Regions from separate parts of the Homo sapiens genome. Here region 1 is linked to region 2. The links are contacts of gene promoters, found by promoter capture Hi-C in blood cells and fetal thymus (Javierre and others, 2016). All regions are on one chromosome and are shown on one strand. Each heading gives the region's core, a stretch centred on a gene start or on the middle of the fragment in contact. The rest is flanking DNA. Distances are from core to core; before and after follow the strand shown. Region 1 has its middle 5.3 kb from the start of MIR607. Region 2 holds the start of PIK3AP1 (phosphoinositide-3-kinase adaptor protein 1).

Region 1 (5,551 bases), core at 587-3,086, 100 kb before region 2:
GTGCAGTGGCACAATCTCAGCTTTCTGCAACCTCCACCTCCCGGGTTCAAGCAGTTCTCTTGCCTCACCCTCCCAAGTAGCTGGGATTACAGGCACCCACCACCACGCCCAGCCCGGAAGGTTTTCTTACTATCATTTAAGGAACTTGATGATATTAGCTTTTCTACTATCTTTAGAACTTAGTACCATTACAAAATAATAAAAGAATAAAATGTACACTTCAGGGGGTTTTCGTATATTCACAAAGTTGTGCAACCATCACCACAATCACTTTTAGAACATTTCATCACCCCAGAAAGAAACCCTGAAATATCAGCAGTTATTCATCATTCCCCATCTCCTCACCCGCTGGCAACAACAAATCTAGTTTTTTCTTTTTTTTTTTTTTTTTTTTTTTGAGACAGAGTCTCGCTCTGTCGCCCAGGCTGGAGTGCAGCGATGCAATCTCGGCTCACTGCAAGCTCCGCCTCCCGGGTTCACGCCATTCTCCTGCCTCAGCCTCCCGAGTAGCTGGGGCTACAGGCGCCCGCCACCACGCCCGGCTAATTTTTTGTATTTTTAGTAGACGCGGGGTTTCACTGTGTTAGCCAGGATGGTCTCGATCTCCTGACCTCATGATCCACCCGCCTCTGCCTCCCAAAGTGCTGGGATTACAGGCGTGAGCCACCGTGCCTGGCCAAATCTAGTTTTTTCTCTATGAGTTTTCTTATTCTGGACATTTCACATAAATAAAATCATGCAATATGTGATTTTTTTTTTCTGACACAGTCTTGGTCTGGTGCCCAGGCTGGAGTGCAGTGGTGCAATCTTGGCTCACTGCAGCCTCTGCCTCCTGAGCTTAAGTAATCCTCCCACCTCAGCCTCTGGAGTAGCTGGGACTACAGGCATGTGCCACCAAGCCTGGCTAATTTTGGAGGGATTTTTTTTTTTTTTCTTTGCAAAGACAGGTTTCACCATGTTGCCCAGGCTGGTCTCGAACTCCTGGGCTCGAGTGTTCCGCCCACCTCAGCCTCCTCCCAAAGTGCTGGGATTATAGGCATTAGTCACTGTGCCCAGCCAATATGCGGTATTTTGTGACTGGCTGCTTTCACTTAGCATGTTTTTAAGGTTCATCTATATAGTTTTTTCATAGCAACCTGTTAAACAAAGGTTGATCTATGTTGTAGTATGTATCTGTATTTACTTTTTATTTTTATTATTTGAGATGGAGTTTCACTCTGTCGCCCAGGCTGGAGTGCAATGGCACTATTTTGGTTCACTGCAACCTCTGCCTCTCGGTTCAAGTGATTCTCCTGTCTCAGCCTCCCAAATAGCTGTGATTACAGTTGTGCACCACCACACCCAGCTAATTTTTGTATTTTTAGTAGAGACAGGGTTTCATCATGTTGGCCAGACTAGTCTCGCACTCCTGACCTCAAGTGATCCATCAGTCTTGGCCTCCCAAAGTGCTGGGATTACAGCCATGAACCACTGAGCCTGGCCTATATCTATTTTTTAATTTTTTCTTGTTAAATATTTCATCATTTAGATACAAAATTTTGTTTATGTATTTCAGTTGATGTATATTTTCATTGTTTTCACTTTTTGGCTATTATGAATATGCAGCTGTGAACATTTGTGTACAAGTTTTTGTGTAGACGTATGTTTTATGTTTATTATGAATATGAATGTGTTCCATATTAATTTTGAAATAATTTCAAGTGACCAAAAAGTTACAAGAATTCTCATGTCCCCCTCACTCAGATTCCCCAAGTTTTAATATTTTAACATATTTTATTTCACTCTCTCTGCATGTACCTACTATATGGTTTTATTGTTGTTATTCTGAGTCTTTTTTTTTTTTCTGCCCAGGCTGGAGTGCAGTGGTGCAATCTCGGCTCACCGCAACCTCCGCCTCCCAGGTTCAAGCGAATCTCGTGCCTCAGCCTCCCGAGTAGGTGGGACTACAGGCATGCACCACCAAGCCTGGATAATTTTTTTTTTTTTTGTATTTTTAGTAGAGACAGGGTTTCACCATGGTGGCCAGGCTGGTCTCAAACTCCTGACCTCAAGTGATGTGCCCGCCTAGGCCTCCCAAAGTGCTGGGATTACTGCCATAAGCCACCATGCCCAGCCTCCTGAGTCTTTATATGAATAATCAGATGAAAAGCTACACACTGGCTACACCGTCATCCCTAAATATCAGGTGTGTATGTCCACTGTCCACTGTTTTCTTTTTCTTTTTTTGAGACGGAGTTTTGCTCTTGTTGCCCAGGCTGGAGTGCAATGGCACAATCTTGGCTCACCACAACCTCCGCTGCCCAGGTTCAAGCAATTCTCCCGCCTCAGCCTCCTGAGTAGCTGGGATTACAGGCATGCGCCATCACGCCTGGCTAATTTTTTTTTTGTATTTTTAGTAGAGACGGGGTTTCTCCATGTTGGTCAGGCTGGTCTCGAACTCCTGACCTCAGGTGATCCACCCACCTCGGCCTCCCAAAGTGCTGGGATTACAGGCATGAGCCACCACGCCCAGCCACTGTCCACTGTTTTCTCATGACTAGACTCAGTCATACATTTTGGTAGGAAACCTACGGAAACCTACAAAGAAAGAGAAGACAATCAGGCAAAGCAAAGCACTCCAAATCTAGATCATCAATTGCATAGCGAATACAGGGATACTCTTTTACATGAATCCTGCTGTCCTTTGCAGGAATGAGAAGTAGCCTTGAAGGGGTCAAGTTGATCTGGAGATGGACACAACTAACCTTTACTTCACTCCTCAGGTAAAATTTACTATATGCACAATTTATTTGAAAATTACTGCTGGGTGTGGTGGCTCATGCCTGTAATCCCAACACTTTGGAAAGCTGAAGAGGGAGGATCTCTTGAGTCCAGGAGTTCAAGACCAGCCTGGGGAACAAAGTGAGATCCCGTCTGTACAAAAATAAAAAACAATTAGCAGGGCGTAGTGGCGTGCACCTGTTGTCCTAGCTACTCAGGAAGCTGAAGGGGAGGGATTGCTTGAGCCTGAGAGATGAAGGCTGCAGTGAGCTATGATCCTGCCACTACACTCCAGCCTGGGTGACCCCTGTCTCAAAAATAAAATAAGGCTGGGCACAGTGGCTCACACCTGTAATCCCAGCAATTTGGGAGGCAGAGGCGGGTGGATCACTTGAGGCCAGGAGTTTGAGACCAGCCTAGCCAACAAGATGAAACCCTGTCTCTACTAAAAGTACAAAATTAGCCTGGTGTCGTGGCAGGTGCCTGTACTGCCAGCTACTCGGGAGGTTGAGGGGGGAGAATCACTTGAACCCAGGAGGTAGAGATTGCAGTGAGTCGAGACAGCGACACTGCACTCCAGCCTGGGCAACAGAGTGAGACCCTGTCTAAATAAATAAATTAATTAATTAATTAATTAATTAATAGAATCACCTACTGACATGTGAGACATCACCTGTGGTGGTCCTGAGCTTTTGGGCGAATTGTGTCCTCCTCATCAAATTTTAATACTTTGTTCTCCCAACATAGAATGTAAGCTATTTAAAGACAAATGTGTTCAGTCTGGCATGATTTTTCTCAGCAGCTAAAGCCATAACTAGAAAAGGGTCTCTCTGTGGATAACAAAAGTTTGAGGACTCTGGCCTATTCTGTATCTAGATGTTATGTCTTCTCTTTCTCTTCCATCTGCTCATTCTTCCATTTTACTCCTATCTTAGACCACAGATGAACAACTTTAGCTTTTCTTTCATTCCTTGGGTTTGAATCCTAACCTCTCTAAACCTCAGTTTGCTCATCAGTAAAAAGGGGCTAATAATACTACCTACCTCAAAGAGTTGTTGTGAGGATTAACTGATATAATCCATGTAAATCATGGATTTTATGGATCCCCCACAAAGATACTAAAACCCTCCCTAAAGCCCACTCCACAGATGCTGTCTCTGCAGATCATATCACCTTTTGACGTGATTGGGTCTTATGGTAAAATCTTGAATTTTTTTTTTTTTTTTTTTTGAGATGGAGTCTTGTTCTGTCGCCCGGGCTGGAGTGCACTGGCGTGATCTTGGCTCACTGCAACCTCCGCCTCCTGGGTTCAAGCAATTCTCTTGCCTCAGCCTCCCAAGTAGCTGGGATTACAGGCATGCACCACCATGCCCAGCTAATTTTTTTGTATTTTAGTAGAGACAGGGTTTCACTGTGTTGGTCAGTCTGAACTCCTGACCTCAGGTGATCCACCCTCCTTCGCCTCCCAAAGTGCTGGGATTACAGGCATGAGCCACCGCGTCCAGCCAAATCTTGATATTTTATCTAATTATAAAATATGCATACCTTTTTCCCCAGGATTTTTACTTCTAGGAATTTAATCTATAAAAATATTTTCAACACATATATAAAGATATATGTACAAGGAAGTTTTCATTGTTGAAAAAATAAAACAAGTCACAATGTCTGCTCATTCAATGGAATGCCCTGTAGCTAGTTAAGAAAAAATGAAACAGGGCCTGGTGCAGTGGCTCACACCTGTAATTCCAATACTTTGGGAGGCTGAGGTGGGAAGATAACTTGGGGTCAGGAGTTCCAGACCAGCCTGGGCAACATAGCAAGACTTCATCTCTATTTTATTTTTTGAAAGAGAATAAAATATACTGTATACATAAATATACAGTAAGATCTACAATACACTTTCTTTTTACCTTTAAGCTCTGTTGGACTTGATACAATACATTTTTAAGTGACAAAAGAAAGCTACAAAATTGCACATATACTTTAACATGGTTGGGTTAAAGATATTAATATATAGCTGGGCATAGAACCTCACACCTGTAATCCCAACACTTTGGAAGGCCGAGGTGAGAGGATTGCTTGAGCCCAGGAGTTTGAGACCAGCAGGGGTAACACAGCGGAACCCTGTCTCTACAAATAAATAAATAATTTAGAAAATAAAAATATTAAATATATATGTATACAAGCTATGTCTGAATGTTTGTGTATCCTCAAAATTTGTGTTGCAACCTAATCCCCATTGTGGTGGTATTAAGAGATAGGGCCTTGTATTAGTCAGGGTTCTCCAGAGAGACAGAACTAATAGGATATATGTATATATGAAAGGGAGTTTATTAGGAAGAATTGGCTCACACAGTCACAAGGCGGAGTCCCAGGACAGGCCATCCGCAAGCTGGGAAAGAAAGAAGCCAGCCGTGGCTCAGTCTGAGTCCAAAGCTTCAAAACCAAGAAAGCTGACAGTGCAGCCTTCAGTCTGTGGCAAACGGCTTGACAACCCCTGGCAAAACACTGGTGTAAGTCCCAGAGTCCAAAGGCCAAAGAACCTGGAATCTGAAGTCCAAGGGCAGGAGAAGCAGAAGGAAACATCCAGCACGGGAGGAAAAAGAAGGAAGCAGAAGACCCAGCAAGCAAAGGCATCCCAACTTCTTCTGCCTGCTTTGTTTTTGCCACGCTGGCAGCCAACTGGATGGTGCCCACCGACATTAAGAGTGGATCTTGTCTCCCAGTCCACTGACTCAAATATCAATCTACTCTGGCAACACCCTCACAGACACATCCAGAAATAAGACTT
Region 2 (5,558 bases), core at 75-2,574:
GAGACAGAAGAGAGTCAGAGAAAGGGATATGATGACAGAAGCAGGGCCATCTGGCTTTGAAGATAGAACAAGGAGGCCATGAGCCAAGGAATGTGGATGGCTTCTAGAAGCTGAAAGAGCCAAGGAAATTGATTCCCTTCTATTTGGCAGAAAGAAACCCAGCCCAGCCACCACCTTGATTTTAGCCGATGGAGACTCATGTCACACTTCTGAGCTACAGAACTGTAAAATGATAAGTTGGTGTTGTTTTAAGCCACTAAATTTGTAGTAATTTATTATGGCAACAGAAGAAAATGAATGCACGGCCTCATCCTGATATTCCCGTTCTTAAATCCATTTCATTTTATTTCCACCTGGACTTCAGCCCTAACCTTGCCTCATCTCTGCTCTCTGGGTCCATCTTCTGGCCCCTGGATTGTTGAGAACTCCAAGGGGATGTGCTATTCAGTTGAATTTCGGCAGCAGGCAAAGGGAGGAGTCCAAGAAGAGGGCAGGTGAAGGCAAGGGTTAAGCAAGAGTTCTAGCTCTGGAAGCAGACTGGCTTGGTACTGAACCTCCGGGAGCTTTTGTTCTCTGTGGAAGCCTGAGCAAGGTATTTGGCTTGTTTCTTTGGCTCCAATGTAAAGACAGTGATAGGTGCTACCTCAGAAGGTTGCTGTGAGGATGCAATGCGATAATGTGTGTAAGGTGCTAAACGCAGCGCCCAGCAGACAGGAACACAGGAAATGAATGGCAGAGAAACTCTATTAGACATTTATCATGTGACATTATAATTAATGTTCATGTGCCATCAGGAGACCAGATCCAAGGAACGGCAGAAAGATCACAGGAGGGCACTCAAGGGCAACGCCGAGCACCCAGGGCCAGGTGCCCAGCCCTCCTCCTCTTCCCCTTCCTGTCCCCTCCCCTTTCCTGCTGGGGCAGCAGGGGCTTAGGGACAAAGCCCCAGGCGATGAGGAGGTGGCTTGGACAGCTGGTGCTCACACACACACACACCCCCGCCCTGTCTCCCAGAGGCCTGGCAGCCCCACACTCTCCCCCTCCGCCTCCTCCCCACACCCCCTCCACCTCGGGCTGCCCTTTGGTGGCAGATCAGGGCTGGTTTCCCGAGGAGTGGGGCGCACGTGGCGCGAAGCCCCCGCCTTCTCGCTGCCCCTGAGCAGGGGGCCGTGGGGGGAGCTGGCCGGCGGCCGGCATGGGGTTCTCACTTCCCCTCCCCAACGGCCGCGGGTGCAGGTGCCGCGGGCCGAGTCCCGCAGGCGGGGCGGACTCTGTGGACACGCCCTCGTGGCGAGGCCGGGCTGCCCTGAGGGAGGAAGCGCCAGAGCGGCGGCCGGTCCCGCGCGGAGCCCGGCGCCCCTCCAGCCCGAGCCAGGACGCCGCCGGCCCCGGTCCCGGCCCCGGGCACGCAGCGAGCCAGGGATGTGAGCGGCGCCCCGCGGCATGGCAGCCTCAGGTGGGTAGGCAGGCGCCGCGGGTCCCCGGGCTCCCGGCCCCTCTCTCGTACCCCGCATCCCTTGAGGCGCGCTCCCCCGCTTGCTTCTGTTTGCGTCCTCTGTGCGGGGATCTTGCCCTCTTTCTGCTCTTTTCTATGTTCCCTGTCGCAAACTTCCCACTCCAACTTTCCCACGTTTCCCGTCCCAGCCTGTGGCGCGATTCTCTTCAGCCCCTGCCTGGCCCGACCCCCTCCCACTTCTTCAGGGTCTCCTTCGCTCCCTCCACCTCTGGCCCTAGGAGTGTCTGAGCGTCGCTTCCCCTGTCCCTCCGACTCTGAAGCGAGAGGCGAGTTGAGAGAAGCGGAGGGCGGGCGATGTGGATGGTCTACAGGGCCAAACGCGTCTCCTGGGCTCCGTGGACCCACAGGGGGCGCTCAGGCAGTCCTAGGTGGTGCGGAGAGATCAGCCGGGGAGGCCCTTGGGACAGTTCCCCAAGCCCCGTTCCTCCACCCCTCCCAGGCTTTGTGTTTTGGGTCTAGAACTTTGCTAGGGATCTAGGAACACTATTCCTTGAACTTTACTTTTCCTGCGTCCTTTGCAGAACTTTGGGGAATGGGGAGAGTTGGCGGTCACTGGGTAAATGTACTCATCAAAGGGTGCCAAGCGTCTTTTCTGGCTGGTCTTGGGTTGCCTTCTGGTTCATGGGTGTACACACTTGGCAAGTCGCTCACTGACGGAGATCCAGGACAAGCCACATAATGATGATAACGGAGACAATTAATGAGTCCTTACTATTGCACTCCAATGGATACTGTGCACCTAATATGTTCTCCATGGTGGGCAGGAAACACCTAGTCTCTGCTCTCCAGGAGTTTATGGTCCTGTAGAGGAAAGCAATAAGTAAACAAGGAATTACTAGATGAGAGGAGGTAGAGTTACAGTGTTTACAAATGGGTTTACTTGTATTTTCCCAGCCCACTTTATGATGTTTTAGTAGGGATAACCTGTGAAAACAGGTTGCAGGTGCCCCTTGAAAAAGAAAATCTAGGTGGCCAGGAGAAGGCACTGTTCTTACAGGAGGTGAGCAAACACTGGAATGAAGAGCCAGCTCTCCCCAGATCCTCTGAGGGTCTGGTAAGGGTGCTTCGGAAGCAGAGGTAGAAAAGGCCAGGAGTGATTGTTCCATGTACTACAGGCTCATTAAAGGGGATGGGAAGGTAGTTAATCACAGCCTCCTGGCTCTCCAGCTGGGCTCTGGAGGCTAAAAGAAGCTGTGTTGTGAATAAGGAGGCCTAGTAATAGCAGGTAATATACACTTAATAAGGAAAATCTCTGGTATGACATGTGTTATGGGAAAACGATAAAGAAGGGTGAGGGAGACTGGGGTTAGGATTTTCAAATGAGGTGGCCAGGGTGGAGAAAGGCACATTTGAGCCAAGATTTCCAGGGGGAGGAGGCTCTTTGGGGAAGAGTGCTCCAAGCAATGAGTGTATGTGGTGCGTTAAAGGAAAGGGAGTAGGCCAGAGTGGCTGGAGTAGGTGGGCTGTGGGGGAGAGGGAGATGAGGCCAGATAATAAACCAGTGAAGCCGCCTCCTCCTTCCATGGTCAGGAACAGGCCCTGGGCTGCTGAGTCCAGGAAACCGCAAACTGGGAGGGCCTTTGGGTGGAAGAGTCTGAGAAAATGGCCTCTCTTTTCCTCTTTTCCAGCGTCCTGTGTACCTCTCTCCAGTGGACACAGCCGAAGGAGCTAGGAAGGCGAGCTCCAGTTCAGAGGGGGACCCTAGTCCGGTGGGCAAACCTGGGGCTATTTATGGGCTCTGTAGCAGCTTCTGCAGGTGTTTGTAATGGTTAGAGCTGTCAAACTGTCTTGCTGTCTGCGTCTTCTGTGGCGAGACACCACTCCAGGTGCTGTAATTGAGAGTTGGGTCTCTGGAGTCCCTCGGGTTCCCTGAGGTTTGGAAGTACAAGGACCCATGGGGGAAGATCACAGTGGTGAGAGCAATGCCGCTCGCCAAGGTGCTGTGGGCTTTGGAGTCATCCAGCCACCCTTCTGTATGTTCTTCTTTTCTTTTAAAAGCAGCTTTATTGTGATATAATTCACATGCCATACAATTCATCCATTTAAAGCATACAATTCAGTGGTTTTTAGTATCTTTACAGATATGTGTAGCCATCACCACAGTCAATTTTGGGACATTTTCATCACCTCAGAAAGAAACCTTGTATGCTTTAGGTATCAACCTTTTATTCTCCTCTCCTCTCCCAGCCCTAAGATCTACTTTGCCTCTATAGATTTCTCTACTCTGGGCTTGTATATGAATGGAATCACATAGTATGTGGTCTTTGGTGACTGGCTTCCTTTGTACAGCATAATATTTTCAAAGTTCATCCCACTGTAGCTTATATCAGTACTTCGTTCCTTTTTATGGCCTAATTCTTAAATTCCCTTCCACTGAAGGGGAAGCATTAGTCTATATTGTTTTCTGAAAGATGTCTGCTTGTTGAAATCCAGGAGAAGTTAGGCTCCCTGTCTTTGAAAGGACCTTGGGTAGGAAGATAAAATGAAATGGACTTGGCCTATTCCACAAAATTCTCTAGGCCCCTGATGGCATCTTGTGTATTTACACGTGAGAGAGAGGAAAGAGAGGATCCGTGAGTGACTTTCCCAAGTGGCCAAGTCTGTGGCTGGGTGAAGAAAGACTAGTACTCTCTCCTCTGTGTATCAGCTCTCATACCGTCTCTTGCCCCCTCTCTCCAAGGCTCTTCTCTTTAGATCCTTCTACTATTCCTGGACTTACAGGACCATGGAGCTTGAAGGGACTTTTAACCTTTTTGTGACCTTAACTTCCATGTGATCCTTGAGGCCTCTCAATACTCTTGCCAGTACCTAAATTTGAACAACTTCTGGGGTGGGAAGCTCCTGATATGATTGACCACATCTCTCCTTATCCTGGTCACCTTCCCTATCTCTCATCCCTCTTCAAATATGGTGTTCAGATTCAAACATGGGGCTCCAGGATGGATGAATGGGGTGCCAGAGTCACCTATAGGCTGAAGAAATGGTCTGGGCTGGGTGGTTTGAGAAGCTTTCTGGCACTTCCTGTCTGTACTTCTCTCCAGTGAGTTTTTTTTTTTTTTTTTTTGAGACGGAGTCTCACTCTGTCACCCAGGCTGGAGTGCAGTGACACGATCTTGGCTCACTGCAAACTCTGCCTCCCAGGTTGAAGTGATTCTCGTGCCTCAGCCTCCCGAGTAGCTGGGATTACAGGTGCCCACCACCATACTCAGCTAATTTTTGTATTTTTAGTAGAGACAGGGTTTCACCATGCCAGGCTGGTCTTGAACTCCTGGCCTCAAGTGATCTGCCCTCCTTAGCCTCCCAAAGTGCTGGGATTACAGGTGTGAGCCACCACGCTCGGCCCTCCATTGGGCTCTGAATCCTGCAAAGGCACCTCTCTTTCAGCCCCAGCTTTTCACCCCATGGACTCCCTGCTGCTACAGCCTCCCCTTCCTCTGCTGTGATCCATTTCTTTCTCCTTCTGTAGCCAAACCTGTTCTTGACGTTTTACGAGGACAAAGAAAGACCCTTCCTCATTTCTTTCTAGGGCTTGTAGACTCCTTGTTAGCTCATGTGTTTCATTTCTCTTAATAAATGAACAAGCAAAAAAAAAGAGAGATGTGATTGAGGATAAGTGGAAAAGCTACTTATGGTTAAAGGAAGAGGATTATTGCTGAAGAAAGGAGTTTCCCCCATATAAGGCAGAGTTGCTGACAAAGCATTTAGTCCTATATTGTTACCCAGCACATCAGAAAGGGACTGGAACTTTCACTTTGGACTTTTTAAAAACTTCCCCTTCTTTCAGTTTCCCAGCACAGCAATATTCGGGAAGGTGATAGATTTCATTGTCCTCATTTACATCAAGGCAAATTTGCCTAGACTTAGTAATTGGTCTAAGTCACACCACAGGTTAGTGACCAAATAGGTTGTAATGTTAACTAGTCTGAGGCAGTAATTAATTTCTCCTCAAATACTTTCACTCAAAGGGAATTGAATTTAACACTAGAACCCCAGGAGTGAGACATTGTGCATTTATTTATTTATTTATTTATTTATTTAATGA

What was found. Contacts are between HindIII fragments. The CHiCAGO score rates a contact against its expected background, and 5 or more counts as called.
Region 1: a contact is called between a fragment that was not itself captured here and the fragment with the promoter of PIK3AP1 in region 2, in 3 of 17 cell types (neutrophils, naive B cells and monocytes). The highest score is 6.1, in neutrophils.

Annotation. Positions count from the first base shown.
Region 1 is chr10:96,820,641-96,826,191 of GRCh38, reverse strand. No RefSeq gene overlaps it. Among named protein-coding and RNA genes, the nearest start is that of MIR607, 5.3 kb to the left of the region's middle. The HindIII fragment of the contact is 6,725 bases long and covers 1-5,198 here.
Region 2 is chr10:96,716,280-96,721,837 of GRCh38, reverse strand. It overlaps PIK3AP1 (phosphoinositide-3-kinase adaptor protein 1), which reads left to right and starts at 1,324. Exons shown (of 17, transcript NM_152309.3): 1 at 1,324-1,456. The coding sequence starts at 1,444. RefSeq lists enhancers at 733-842, 1,693-1,802 and silencers at 963-1,262, 1,313-1,562. The HindIII fragment of the contact is 16,174 bases long and covers 1-4,525 here.